Linked DNA regions of Homo sapiens: regions 1 and 3 are each linked to region 2. Evidence: promoter capture Hi-C in human tissues and cell types (Jung and others, 2019). All regions are on one chromosome and are shown on one strand. The core of a region is centred on a gene start or on the middle of the fragment in contact, and the rest is flanking DNA. Distances in the headings are between cores, read along the strand shown. Region 1 overlaps POLA2 (DNA polymerase alpha 2, accessory subunit). Region 2 holds the start of FAU (FAU ubiquitin like and ribosomal protein S30 fusion). Region 3 overlaps DPF2 (double PHD fingers 2).

Region 1 (4,748 bases), core at 1,312-3,811, 170 kb after region 2:
GTCAGGAGTTTGAGACCAGCCTGGCCAATATGGTAAAACTCTGTCTGTACTAAAAATACAGAATTAGCCAGGCGTGGCGGTGGGCACCTGTAATCCCAGCTACTTGGGAGGCTGAGGCAGGAGAATCACTTGAACCTGGGAGGCAGAGGTTGCAGTGAGCCAAGATCGTGCCGTTGCACTCCAGCCTAGGCAAAAAGAGCGCAACTCCATCTCAAAAAAAAAAAAAAAAAAAAGCTGGGCGTGGTGGCTCACGCACTTTGGGAGGCCAAAGCAGGCGGATCACCTGAGGTCAGGAGTTCAAGACCAGCCTGATCAATATGGTGAAACCCTATCTCTACTAAAATTACAAAATTAGCTGGGCGTGGTGGCACATGCCTGTAATCCCAACTACTGCGGAGGCTGAGGCAGGAGAATCTCTTGAACCCAGGAGGCAGATGTTGCAGTGAGCCGAGACCACACCATTGCACTCCAGCCTGGGCAACAAGAACAAAACTCCTTTTCCAAAAAAAAATCATGGCAGTTCCTATTCTTTCCTTCCTTTTGAACTACCGAGATCAGCTAGAACCCTTGAACTTCAAGTGCAAGTTAAGAGGCATCTCTGTAAAACACAAAGATAAACATACTTGACAAGGCTGCATCGGCTCTCACTCTTTGGTTGCTCTTTCTCTTCTATACTTAGTTCCTTTTCTCACTCCCTTTTGTATAAACTAATATTCCACGGGAATCTTCCCAGGATGGTTTTGAGAAGTGTTTGATGACTTACGCAGTGAAATCCTGTGAGACCCCAAACATCTTGTTGTGTAAGTGATTGTATTGGGTAAGCCCAAGTTCCTCCCAAGTCAGTGCTTCCCCAGGGTGCGTGGGAAGCTGCCAGTGGCTACAGCTGGTGGTGATAGAAACTCTCAGTGAGGGTGGGGCCTTGAATCCTTGCCATAGACCAAACGGAAGGAACTGTGAGAGGTTACAGCAGTGATGAGAGAGCTGTGCAGTTCTCATTTGAGAGGAAAGTCACTGTTCCAGGAAGAGGCTAAAGCCGGAAGTGGAAAGTTATTCAGAAATCTGACATCCTCCATTCCTGTCCCTTTTCCCCAGTGCCAGGGTTTGAAAGAAGTTGGTATAGGTGGTAGATCTCCTCACAAGATCTGCATGCTTGTAGCTGAGCTAATAAAATACAAATATTCCTGAGGCTAAGCATTTAAAAACGAGTCTGTCACAAAGGTGGTTTTTAAAATAAGATGTCTAACCTTCCGCCTTTTAGCCATGAGAACTGATCCCAGAATCAATAAGTTGTAACATTACCTTCTTGTACCAGCAGTGTGGGCCAGGATGGTAGATGTCACAGCTGGAATAAAGAACATCCCCCAACTCACCCCAGAATCAGAGACTTGGGTTGTGCCAGTGACAACCATGTCTGGTTCTGCCCTTTCCTCCCCTGCCTCCCTCAGATGAAGGTGATGCAGGTGCCTTCCCTCTTCCCCAGATTTGCTGTGATCCTGGTCAAGTTCATCAGGCCTGGAGAGTGGTTGGAACTCCTCAGGAGATAGACCCCCAAAACACAGGAGCAGGGCTGTGTTCTTTTGTCAGCCCTTGGGGATAGGCAGGGACTGTGTTGTAGTGCCCTAACACTGGCTGGGTGCTTTCAGTTTGAGGTCGGGTTCTGTTTTTGGTTCCTTACCCCGTGTGGTATTGACAGCAGTGATAGAAATAAAGCACAGATGAGGCATTGTCACACTGGGGATGAGAGCCCAGCACCACCAGGCACTTTCATCTATGGCCAGTGTGTGCCACAGGGCAGGGGGAGCTGCCCCACCCTTCTAGAAACAGTATATAAACAGTTCTTGGGCAGAGAATTTCTTTGTATTCCTGAGAGGTCAGAAATGCAGAGCATTAAGCTGAGTCATCATTAGTAAAAGTCAGAGCCAGGCTAAGCACGGGGCTCACGCCTATAATCCCAGCACTTTAGGAGACTGAGGCGGGCAGATCACTTGAGGTCAGGAATTCAAGACCAACCTGGCCAACACGGCGAAACCCCATCTCTACTAAAAATACAAAAATTAGCCAGATGTGGTGGTGGGTGCTTGTAGTCTCAGCTACTCGGGAGGCTGAGGCAGAATTGCTTGAACCCAGGAGGTAGAGGTTGCAATGAGCCGAGATCGCACCACTGCACTCCAGCCTGGGCGACACAGCAAGACTCCATCTCAGAAAAAGAAAAAGAGCCAGTGAGAAAGCACCTCAGAGAAAGCGAGCAGAGCCCGCGGTTCTCGTCCTGTTTGCGGGAGCAGCTGGAGGACCCTCCCGCTGTGACGTACGAGGTTGTGCAATGCTGAGCATAGTTGGGATGTTTTTCTGATCCCTCCTTCTATAGGCGCTTTCTAACCATGAGCAGGAAGGCTATTTCCTCCTTAACTATTGCCCTTCCAAAGCCTACACTGAAACAGGGCAATTTTGTCCCTTGAGAGCAGCCAGCTGCACCTCAGTCCTTTGTGTTTATCACAGATGTCAAGCCCTTGAGATGTGGAGCACAGATTGTCCCATTCAAGTTACCCTGTGGCCTGTTTACCAGACCCTGGCACCCAAATGGTGGACTGGATCACCCTAGTGAGCTTCTCAGTGTCAAAGGGACAATAATGAATATGCAAACACCTTTGGTCTCAGGATTCTGATTTTCTGTTATAGACATCTCAGTTCACACTCTGAGAGGACACCACAAACAGTGATAAGGGTGACAGCTGTCACCAGCACCTTTATCACATGTGAAAGTGTATGTATGCCTGAGAAGTCCACATGTTTTAAGCAAGAGACAGAGATGGAAGTGAGAGCTATTGGTGGATTTTAAACATGCCCGCAAAGTAATACCTTATGCCTATTTGATTTATAAACGGCCCCTCTGCCAAGGTCATCTTAAGGGAACCAAGGAAACGGGGCTTTCTTCCTCTTTTGTGTGGCTGGGAAAAATAAATAGTTGGCCCCCAGAGTTACAACTTTCTTCTTCACTTGTATGTTGTAACCCTAGAGATTCTCCTGCTCCATCAAAGGAAACATCTGCTGTCATCTGTGCTTTTACTGTTGCTGTTAAATATTTCTTTCATTTTTGCATGACAACCTGCTGAGAAATAGAAACTCAGGGCATTATTTCCATGTGTGAGAGGGGAGGGATGCGATGGCTCAGGGAGAGGCCGCTTGGGCTTTTCTGCCTCCCACTGGAAATGTCTGTGTCTCGGTTGTCCAGTAATTATGGCCCAGTGTTCAGTCAGTCAGAGGGTTTCAGCTGGATCTTCTAAATACGAAGCCAGGCCAGGTGTGGTGGCTCACACATGTAATCCCAACACTTTGGGAGGCCAAGGTCGGTGGATCACTTGAGGCCAGGAGTTTGAGACCAGCTTGGCCAACATGGTGAAACCCTATCTGTACTAAAAATACAAAAATTAGGTGGGTGTGGTGGTGTGCACCTGTAGTTGTAGCTACTCGGGAGGCTGAGACACAAGTATCACTTGAACCCAGGAGATGAGGTTGCAGTGAGCCCACATCATGCCACTGCACTCCGGCCTGGGCGACAGAGTGAGGCTCTGTCTCAAAAAAAAAAAAAAAAAAAGCAGTCTCAGGGTCTTTTTAGTATGCCTGCCTTCTCCCTAGGAAAAATGCCCCAGCTCCATGCACCCTACCAAGGTGTGGCAGGGACACTGTTTACTGCCTGCAGGCTACACCTGCTTAGAAGGTGTAATGAGTCCAAGCTGTGGTTTAAACTCTGGCTCTGAGGCTGTGATTCTTTATTCACATCCTTGTCTTTCTAGACTTTCTAGATCTCCATTTCTTTGCCCCTTTTTCTGCCAAAAAATAGTCTCCATCCTCTCAGTAGAAAGCCACACAGAGCAACAAGAAAGTGTCCCAGGCAATCGGAGCCTGTCCAGATGGATGGGTGTGAAGTAGAACAAACTGTCCTTTACTCCCAGTGTCCCATGGGAAACAGCGTCTCTGTTCATAACAGAGTGCAGTTCTGAGCTGCCTCCCTCGGGGTGGGCTCTGCCTCCAGCCTGAGGCATCCCACCTGTTGCGCAGCTGTTCTAACTCAACTGCACTCACTTTTCTCACTCTTCTGTTTGTTCTTTTGCCATACTAGCTCCGGCTCCCACCTTGTCTTTGTCCCGTCATTGAGAGATGTGCACCATGAGCCTGTGTACCCCCAGCCGCCTTTCAGCTACTCCGATCTGTCTCGAGAGGACAAAAAGGTAGCAGCACCCACTCCTTGACCAGCAGGCAGCCAGAATCCAGCATGCCTCTGCCACTAGCTCTGGCCCTGAAGGGGAGGGTGGAGAGGCCTCTTTAGGGTGTGCGTACAGCCTGAATCTTAAACTCCTTTTTTTAAACAGGCAAATGTGTCCAAAAGCTTGATGTATGTTGGTTTGGTCCCCCTTTCCGTGGTCTCCCCAGCCCTCAGACAACCCCCACTTTCATGGGAAGATGTTTCTAGCTTTGGCATACAAATGTTTGTTTCAATCCGTTCTCATTTTAGCAAGTACAGTTTGTGTCCGAGCCCTGCAGCCTCTCCATAAACGGAGTGATCTTCGGCTTGACATCCACAGATCTGCTTTTCCACCTGGGGGCCGAGGAGATCAGTAGGTAAGAAGTGTGTTCCAGGCCCCAAGCAGGATGACTGGCTTTCTGGTCCCAGCCCTTTCTGCAGCCAAGAAAATCAAGGGGCTGCTTAACGGTCTTGACCAGAGAGAGCTGAAAGCAGCAAGCTGTGCCAG
Region 2 (4,378 bases), core at 1,114-3,613:
CAAGATTCACACACTCACTGTAAGCCAGATGTTGATTTACATCCTTTAACCCTCACAGCAGCCCTGGAGATGGCAGAGATTAAATTAGTAGTTAGTTCAAAGGCCAGCCACCCAGTAAATGGAGTAGGAAGAAAAAGAAGGTCCAAACTCAGGCAGTCAAAGTCCACAGCCCAAGGGCTTTACCCTGTTGGATGCTATTTCTCAAGAACTGGCAGGTCCAGAAACTTTAGCTGAATGAGTAAGTGGGGTTCAGAAGTGCTGGGAGGCTCAGTTGCCAGAAGAGAACCCTGAATCAGCCCCAGAGGTAACCCAACTTTTGGGAACACTGAAACCTCACTATATCCAATCACAGATGTGATTAGGTTACCAAGTCCGGCCAGGCAGTCACAGAGGTACAAACGAGGCCATGCTCCCAACATAATATTTACTTCTAAAACCAAGGCAGACCAGATTCCTGCCCTGGACTCTAAGGCCACAGCTGGTACCAAGTTCAGGGAACGGCCAGGTTCACCTTCTATACAAACCTCTTCCCCCACCCATCCCTTCTATTGCTGCCTCCATAACAAACCTCTCACCACAGTGATTCCTGCTACCTTCTCTGTTTAGAAGATGAAAAAGAATGACCTGGGGGGACTGATCAAGTTACTTAGGATAGGGAATAACCCCAATTTTACATCTGAAGCCCCCCAGGATCTGTAGCTGTTTCTTCACAGGAAATTTCTCTTGTAGTTTACCATTTCTTCCCCCCATACCAAAGGCTTCTGCCTTTTCTGCCTCACTGTTCTCCTAGGGGACATACCACCAACCCGAGAAGCACACCTCTCCCTGAGGCCTTGCAAGTAAAGATGAAACAATGCGATGACTGAACTAAGTGGCTTTTTTATTAGAGAAAGCCAGAATTACAAAAGACTTAAGAGTTGGCATTGGGGCCCTTCTTCTTGCCAAAGGTGGGCACAACGTTGACAAAGCGCCGGTTGTACTGCATCCGCCGCTTAGCCCGACCTGTCTTCTTCTTCTTCTTCTCCTGTTTGGCCACCTGGAGAAGGGAAGGTTAATCAGGCCCTGGTTCCTGTCTTCCACACCTAGCATCCCTTCCCTCAGGCTCATCTCCAGGGAGGGAGAAGGCAAACCGAGTAAGAGCCCAGGGACTTGGTTTAGCTGTGAAAGGAAAAAAAGTCCTAACACCATGACCACTAATACTCTCACTCACCTTAGGAGTCTGACCTCTCACTTTTCCAGCACGGGCCAGGGAACCATGGACTTTACCTGTAGTGGGAAAGGAAGGCACCAGCAGGTAAGAGCAAGAAGGTGCCACCCAGCAGAACCCCTCTTTTCTCAATTCAAGCCTTTAAAGAGAAGCTGCGCCCAATAGGTAATGAGAACAAAGTTGCAGATATTTGACCTTGAAATCTTAAGTTTCATTTCAGGATCTTCCAGCTTCTAATTTTATAGAGCACTTTGGGGGCCCTGGTCTGACCTAATTTTAGTGTGGAAGCTGATAACCAGACTAGGATCTCGTGATGTGACTGAAATACAACTACACTCTGGCTCAGTCTCCCATGGACGTCTGTGTTCAACATGAGGGATGTAAACAGGAAGAATCACTCTGAACTGAAGACAGTGAGAAGTACTCTATTACCATAGGTGTGACACTCAGCTGTCAGGACTATGCACCCCACACTCACTAGACGCTTACCGGTACTTCAAAGAACATTCCTCTCTCACTCACCTCCAAGCATGCGGCCTGCTACTTCCAGGGTAGTCAGGGCCTCCACCCCGCACTGGCCCAGAGTGGCCTCATCCTCCAGGGGCGCGCCTGCCAGGAGCACGACTTGATCTTCCGGGGCAATGCCCTCCAGTGAGGCTACATGAGCCTACAGGGAAAGATAAGGCTCGTAAGCGTTCCCTCGGGCCGCGAGAGTGAAGAGCACAAGAAAATGGAACCCAGGGCGCACCAAGCAGCCTTACCTTGATCTGGGCGACCGTTTCCTGGCCGGTCACCTCGAAGGTGTGTAGCTCCTGGGCGCGGACAAAGAGCTGCATATTGGCGACTGAGTAAAGAAAAGACGGCTTGTAAGAGAAGCCAAGAAATGCTCTGGGATAAAGGAGATTTGGGAGTGGAAAGCGGTCCAGAAACGATCGCGACGGGATGGTGGTCGCGGCGGCTCACGTGGGGAAGGCCAGGCCTCCCAAGGAGTTCGGATAGGGACTGGAGCAGGGCCACGGAGCAGGCCCCGTTCTTCGGTTCCCCCCGCGCCTTCTGACCCCGCAGCCAACCTGCTACAAGCCCTTCGGATCCAGCCAAGGCCCCATTCTTACCTGAACGGCGGTCCCAGCTACCGCGAAGATGGAGTCGAGAAAGAGGAAGAAGCGAGGGCGCGTCAGTACAGACCGTGGGCTGCGTGTCACGTCACTGCTGAGCGACCGCGCGGTTCCCTGCTATTTGTACCGCCCAAGGCAGTCCTAGCTCCGCCCCTTTACGCTCGCACCGGCGAACCTGCCTGGGCAGGCAGCTCGCGCAGGACGGGGCGGGACCAGACAGTTGCGCGCACAGAAGGCTGGCGTAGCAGGTAAAGATGGCAGCTACCATGTTCCGGGCTACGCTGCGGGGATGGAGAACCGGTGTCCAGCGGGGCTGCGGGCTACGGCTGTTGGTGAGAGCGCTGAGCGAGGAGCTGAGGGCATCGCGTGGGTGTGAGGCTCAGTGTTAATCATTGTTAACCCCGAAAACTAAGGCATTCCTACTTGGGGCCTTAGTTTTGCCGTTTTCGATCAGGAGAACTTGTCCCGAGTGTACATATAGAATCGAGAGGGAAAATGGTAGACTGGGGTGCTCTTTGGGAGCACTTAACACAGTGCCTGGCAGTGTCTATATAAGCCACAACGTTTCAGGTAAGGGGCGGGGTCCTAGCATATGAGTGTGCGTGGGGAATTATGATTGCCTTAATTCTTTTTTTTTTTTTTTTTGAGACGGAGTCTCGCTCTGTCGCCCAGGCTGGAGGGCAGTGGCGCGATCTCGGCCCACTGCAAGCTCCGCCTCCCAGATTCACGCCATCCTCCTGCCTCAGCCTCCCGAGTAGCTGGGACTACAGGCTCCCGCCACCATGCCCGGCTAATTTTTTGTATTTTTAGTAGAGACGGGGTTTCACCTTGTTAGCCAGGATGGACTGGATCTTCTGACCTCGTGATCCGCCCGCCTCGGCCTCCCAAAGTGCTGGGATTACAGGCATGAGCCGCCGAACCCGTCTGATTGCCTTAATTCTTAAGGCAATCATAAGATTAAACATCACTATATCCCGTCACAGATGTGATTAGGTTAGCAAGGCCAGCCAGGCAATCATGGAGGTACAAACAAGGCCACGCTGCCAATATAATAATATCTATTTCTAAAACCGAGACAGAAAGTTAAGCCTTAAGTTTCTAAAGGCTTGATTGACTTTTCAGAAGTGTACATATACTCTTTTGCATCCCACAGAAATCCTGAGAGGCAGACCATTCAGAGTACCTGAGCCTCCTTTCCATCCCATCTGTACCCTGCACCATGGAAAACCAAAGACTGGTGCTATCTTATGTCAACCTAAATAACAGACTCTAAAAGAAAAGGATATTTATTCGGGAATGGGTATAGACTATGTGCTTATCAGGGAGGTAAAAGAAGACAAAGGTTTTTAACAGAAAAATGGGCCAGGCACGGTGGCTCACGCCTGTAATCCCAGCACTTTGGGAGGCCAAGGCGCGTAGATCACCTGGAGTCAGGAGTTTGAGACAAGCCTGGCCAACATGGTGAAACCCGTCTCTAGAAAAAATACAAAAATTAGCCGGGTGTGATGGCGTGTGCCTGTAGTCCCAGCTACTTGGGAGGCTGAGGTAGGAGACTTGCTTGAACTTGGGAGGCGGAGGTTGCAGTGAGCCGAGATCACACCACTGCACTCCAGCCTAGGTGACAGAGTGAGACTCTATCTAAAAAAATAATAAAAATAAATAAAGGAAAGGAAAAATGAGTATTACATAATTGTTTTGAGACAGTTATCCTTGGCTACAAGGATGAATAACATGGGTGGTGCCAGTTCAAGATTGGACAGGCAGTTGTTGGACAGATGGCCATGCAGGAATTTGTTTTGTTTTGTTTTGTTTGAGAGAGTCTCGTCGCTCTGTCACCGAGGCTGGAGTGCAATGGTGCGATCTTAGCTCACTGCAACCTCCACCTCCTGGGTTCAAGCAATTCTCCTGCCTCAGCCTCCCAAGTAGCTGGGATTACAGGCATGCACCACCATGCCCGGCTAATTTTTGTATTTTCAGTAGAGATGGGGTTTCGCCATGTTGGCCAGGCTGGTGTTGAACTCCTGACCTTAGATGATCCTCCTGCCTCAGCCTCCAA
Region 3 (3,843 bases), core at 29-2,528, 230 kb after region 2:
TTTATGTTATCACTTACATATTCTTCCAAATTAGGGAGTAAAGCACCTTGCCTTGGCTCAGTTTAGAATGCCTTCCTAACATTTCAACTTAAAGGGTTTAGTGTTTGCACATTATCAGCTACATTTACAACAGAAAATCAACAGCCCAGAAGAAAGCAGATGCTGAGCCGAGATCAGGCACCCAGAAGGAATGATTTATTTTCTTCCAACCAGTCCAGAAAACTCAAGTGGTAGATTATCTGATGTGAAACTTCTGCAGTCAACTCTTGAAATTTGATAGATTTGAGCATTTATTTCCTATCCCTTCCCCTTCTGAACTGGGAAGGGACTTGACTTTGGAGCCTGAATGGGTCAGTCTGCTTCTCCGATAACTTACTGTAATAATGGTCCAAATTTATTAAAGCTATTCACTGAAACCAGTGGTGGCACCAAGAATTGGTTGCATCTCCACAAGTCCCCTTCCAGCTGGATTTCTGTACATAAACACCTCCTGTACAGAAATTGAGTAGCAGCTGGGCGCGGTGGCTCAAGCCTGTAATCCCAGCACTTTGGGAGGCCGAGGTGGGCGGATCACGAGGTCAGGACATGGAGACCATCCTGGCTAACACGGTGAAACCCCGTCTCTACTAAAAATACAAAAAAATTAGCCGGCTGTGGTGGCGGGCGCCTGTAGTCCCAGCTACTCAGGAGGCTGAGGCAGGAGAATGGCGTGAACCCGGGAAGCGGAGCTTGCAGTGAACCGAGATCGCACCACTGCACTCCAGCCTGGGCGACAGAGCGAGACTCCATCTCAAAGAAAAAAAAAAAAAAGCCAACAGAAATTCAGTAGCTTACTCAGAACACAAATGCCCAGGAGCTGTTACTGTGCACAAAGGATGTGGGCCAGCATTACAGGCAAGAGAAAGTGTTTCATTGTGTGATGTAAGCTGACTTGTAACATATCGGTCAAACTGCTGTCACCCCTCTAGAGAATGAGGCCCCTGACAATGTCTAAGAGTCCTTTAGCAGCTGTAGGGGAGTACTCAGCTTCTGTCAGGCCCAGTTTATGAATCTGCTTTGGGGAGAAGTCGCATGTTTATGTTTTGTTTTGTTTTGTTTTTTTAAACCATCAAACAGATGATCTATGTTACAGAATGGCTTTCCTATTAAAGTTCTGTGGGACATCGAGGTAGTGGAGAGCTGCAGGCCCGAGTGTCCTCACTGTAGTGTTAAGGCAGCTGAGGGGCAACCCCTAGAAGTATCAGATGTTCTAGGTCAGGGTCAGCAAGCTACAAGCTAAAACCTATGGACCACATCCAGCCACAGCCAGCTTAAATAGCTTGCAAGCTGTTTTGTTTTCTTTTCTTTTCTCTTTTTCTTTTTCTTTCTTTCTTTTTTTTTTTTTTTTTTGAGACAGTGTCTTGTTCTGTTGCCCATGTTGGAGTGGAGTGGCATGATCTCAGCTCACTGCAACCTCTGCTTCCCCGGGCTCAGGTAATCTGGTAATCCTCCCACCTCAGCCTCCTGAGTACCTGGGACTACAGGCATGCCACCACACCCGGCTAATTTTTGTATTTTTAGTAGAGACGGGGTTTTGCCATGGTGCCCAGGCTGGTCTCGAACTCCTGGGCTCAAGTGATCCACCCACCTCAGCTTCCCAAAGTGCTGGGATTACAGGTGTGAACCACTGCATCTAGCCTGAAGAAAATCCCCTTAAAAATATAAAAACTGGCTGTGCACTGTGGCTCGCATCTGTAATCCCAGCACTTTGGGATCTCTTGAGCCCAGGGGTTCAAGACCAGCCTGGGCAGCATGGCAAAACCCCATCTTTACTAAAAATAGAGAAATTAGCTGGGCGTGGTGCTGTGCGCTTGTAATCTCAGCTACTATAGAGGCTGAGGCAAGAGAATTGCTTGAATCTGGGAGGCAGAGGTTAGAGTAAGCTGAGATCACACTGCTGTACTCCAGCCTGAGCAACAGAGCGGAAACTCTTGTCTCAGAAAAAAAAAAAATAAAGGGAGTTAAAAAAAAAATGCATGAGACTGTATGTGGCTCACACACCCTAAAATATTTAACACTCTGGCTCTTTACAGAAAACTTTGCCAACCGTATTGACCTTTGGGTTAGAAAGGACTTACATTTTTGAGTCACCTGTTTCTGAAGAGCTGATAAAAGCCCTAGAATAATGTCCAAATGCGCATAGGTATAATTTTGCTTATCATTTCAAGGCATTAAGGACTAATTTTATTCAAAAAAAATTAGAAGAATTCAGCCATAGTCAATATTAATAAACAAGGAATGACCCAATTGTTTTTCATATAAGGGACAATTATTTTGTGTTTTTTAGTGAAACTACACAAGTCTTAAAACTGAGGTGCTTGACAAACTTCTGTCTTCCCAGGCCCTCTTCCTACTCCCAAAACTTCTGATTTAATAGGGCCAAGAGGGCCTGGGCATCAGTATTCTGAAGTCCTCTAGATGATTATTTCTTTCATCTCCATAGAGGATGATATTTCATAATATTTGAAGACTTAGAGGTTTATCCCAGCTCAGGAAACCATGGAACTTTCCTGCTGCAGAGCATCCCTCGTCCTACCTGTAGCTGATCCTGCTATAGAGATGGGGTATCAAGAGCAGAGGAATTGCAAGCAGGTGGGGATTGTGTGGGACCCATCCTGACCCCATTTTGCCTCTCTGCAGGAAGTTGGAGCTGCCACCTGTGTCTGGACCTGTTGAAAGAGAAAGCTTCCATCTACCAGAACCAGAACTCCTCTTGATGTGGCCACCCACCTGCTCCCCGACATATCTAAGGCTGTTTCTCTCCTCCACTTCATATTTCATACCCATCTTTCCCTTCTTCCTCCTCTCCTTCACAAATCCAGAGAACCTTGGGGTGGTTGTGCCAGCCTGCCTTTGGCAGCTGCAAGCTGAGGTGGCAGCTCTGACCACCTCTGGCCCCAGGCCCTCAGGGAGAAAGGAGCAACACACTGCCCCTAGGCGTGCGTGTGGCCCAGTTTCTCTCTGCTCTCCATTAAGTGCATTCACTCTGCTTGCCTTGGGCCCAGCCCCTGGTGATCACAGGGTTCAAACAGTGTCCTCCTAGAAAGAGTGGGAGAGCAGCTCACTTCTCTGTGTTCTGCCTCCCCTCTGGTCTCCAGAGTTTTCCTGTCCTCTAGAGGCAAGCCAGGCCAGGGAGCTGGGAGCGAGCAAGCTGAGGCCACGTCCACAAGGAGCTTTTCATGCCCCTGTGCCGCATAGCCTCACCTCTTTCCTCCAGAGTGGCTCTCTGCGGCCCTGTGTTCCTGCTACAGAGTGTTCTTTTCTGGAGTCAGGATGTTCTCGGTCACCCTCCTGGTTCTGCCCTGTCCCATTCCACCCCACCCCAGGGGGAACAGTAGCTTCACCTTGTTATTCCCATTGCTCTCCTGGCTCACTCTTACGGTCGGTCTCCAGTGACTGAAGCATTCCCCACCCTTGGAATTTCTCATCTTCTGCCTCCCTTCCTACTCCTTTTGGTTTTGTGGGGAGAGGGGAAGGATCAGGGGGCCAGGCCAGCAGCTCGGGGGCCACAAGGAGATGGATAATGTGCCTGTTTTTTAACACAACAAAAAAGCCTACCTCCAAAATCCCCTTTTTGTTCTTCCTGGACCTGGGCATTCAGCCTCCTGCTCTTAACTGAATTGGGAGCCTCTGCCACCTGCCCCGTGTATCCTGGCTCTCAGCTCATGGGGAAGCCACATAGACATCCCTTTCTTCCCTTGCACGCTCGCTAGCAGCTGGTAAGGTCTTCACACCCTGATTCCTCAAGTTTTCTGCTTAGTGGCACTGACATTAAGTAGTGGGGGGACAGTCCATGCCAGGACA

What was found. The method cuts DNA at HindIII sites, captures the fragments that hold promoters and counts their contacts. A contact is called where the count stands out against the background at its distance.
Region 1: a contact is called between a fragment that was not itself captured here and the fragment with the promoter of FAU in region 2, in 1 of the 25 tissues and cell types used here (dorsolateral prefrontal cortex).
Region 3: a fragment that was not itself captured here is called in contact with the fragment with the promoter of FAU in region 2 in 1 of the 25 tissues and cell types used here (dorsolateral prefrontal cortex).

Annotation. Positions count from the first base shown.
Region 1 is chr11:65,290,036-65,294,783 of GRCh38, forward strand. POLA2 (DNA polymerase alpha 2, accessory subunit) reads left to right here. Exons shown (of 18, transcript NM_002689.4): 14 at 4,118-4,226; 15 at 4,511-4,617. It overlaps LOC105369344 (a long non-coding RNA gene), which reads right to left. Exons shown (of 3, transcript XR_007062727.1): 3 at 3,738-4,748. Among named protein-coding and RNA genes, the nearest start is that of CDC42EP2, 22 kb to the right of the region's middle. The HindIII fragment of the contact is 5,857 bases long and covers 1-4,748 here.
Region 2 is chr11:65,119,771-65,124,148 of GRCh38, forward strand. FAU (FAU ubiquitin like and ribosomal protein S30 fusion) reads right to left here and starts at 2,364. Exons shown (of 5, transcript NM_001997.5): 1 at 2,320-2,364; 2 at 1,969-2,051; 3 at 1,730-1,874; 4 at 1,211-1,266; 5 at 860-1,036. The coding sequence starts at 2,043. The coding sequence ends at 911. MRPL49 (mitochondrial ribosomal protein L49) reads left to right here and starts at 2,551. Exons shown (of 4, transcript NM_004927.4): 1 at 2,551-2,654. The coding sequence starts at 2,577. RefSeq lists enhancers at 2,322-2,411, 2,572-2,841. The HindIII fragment of the contact is 8,684 bases long and covers 1,936-4,378 here.
Region 3 is chr11:65,349,004-65,352,846 of GRCh38, forward strand. DPF2 (double PHD fingers 2) reads left to right here. Exons shown (of 11, transcript NM_006268.5): 11 at 2,680-3,843. The coding sequence ends at 2,756. Among named protein-coding and RNA genes, the nearest start is that of TIGD3, 3.8 kb to the right of the region's middle. The HindIII fragment of the contact is 5,512 bases long and covers 1-3,843 here.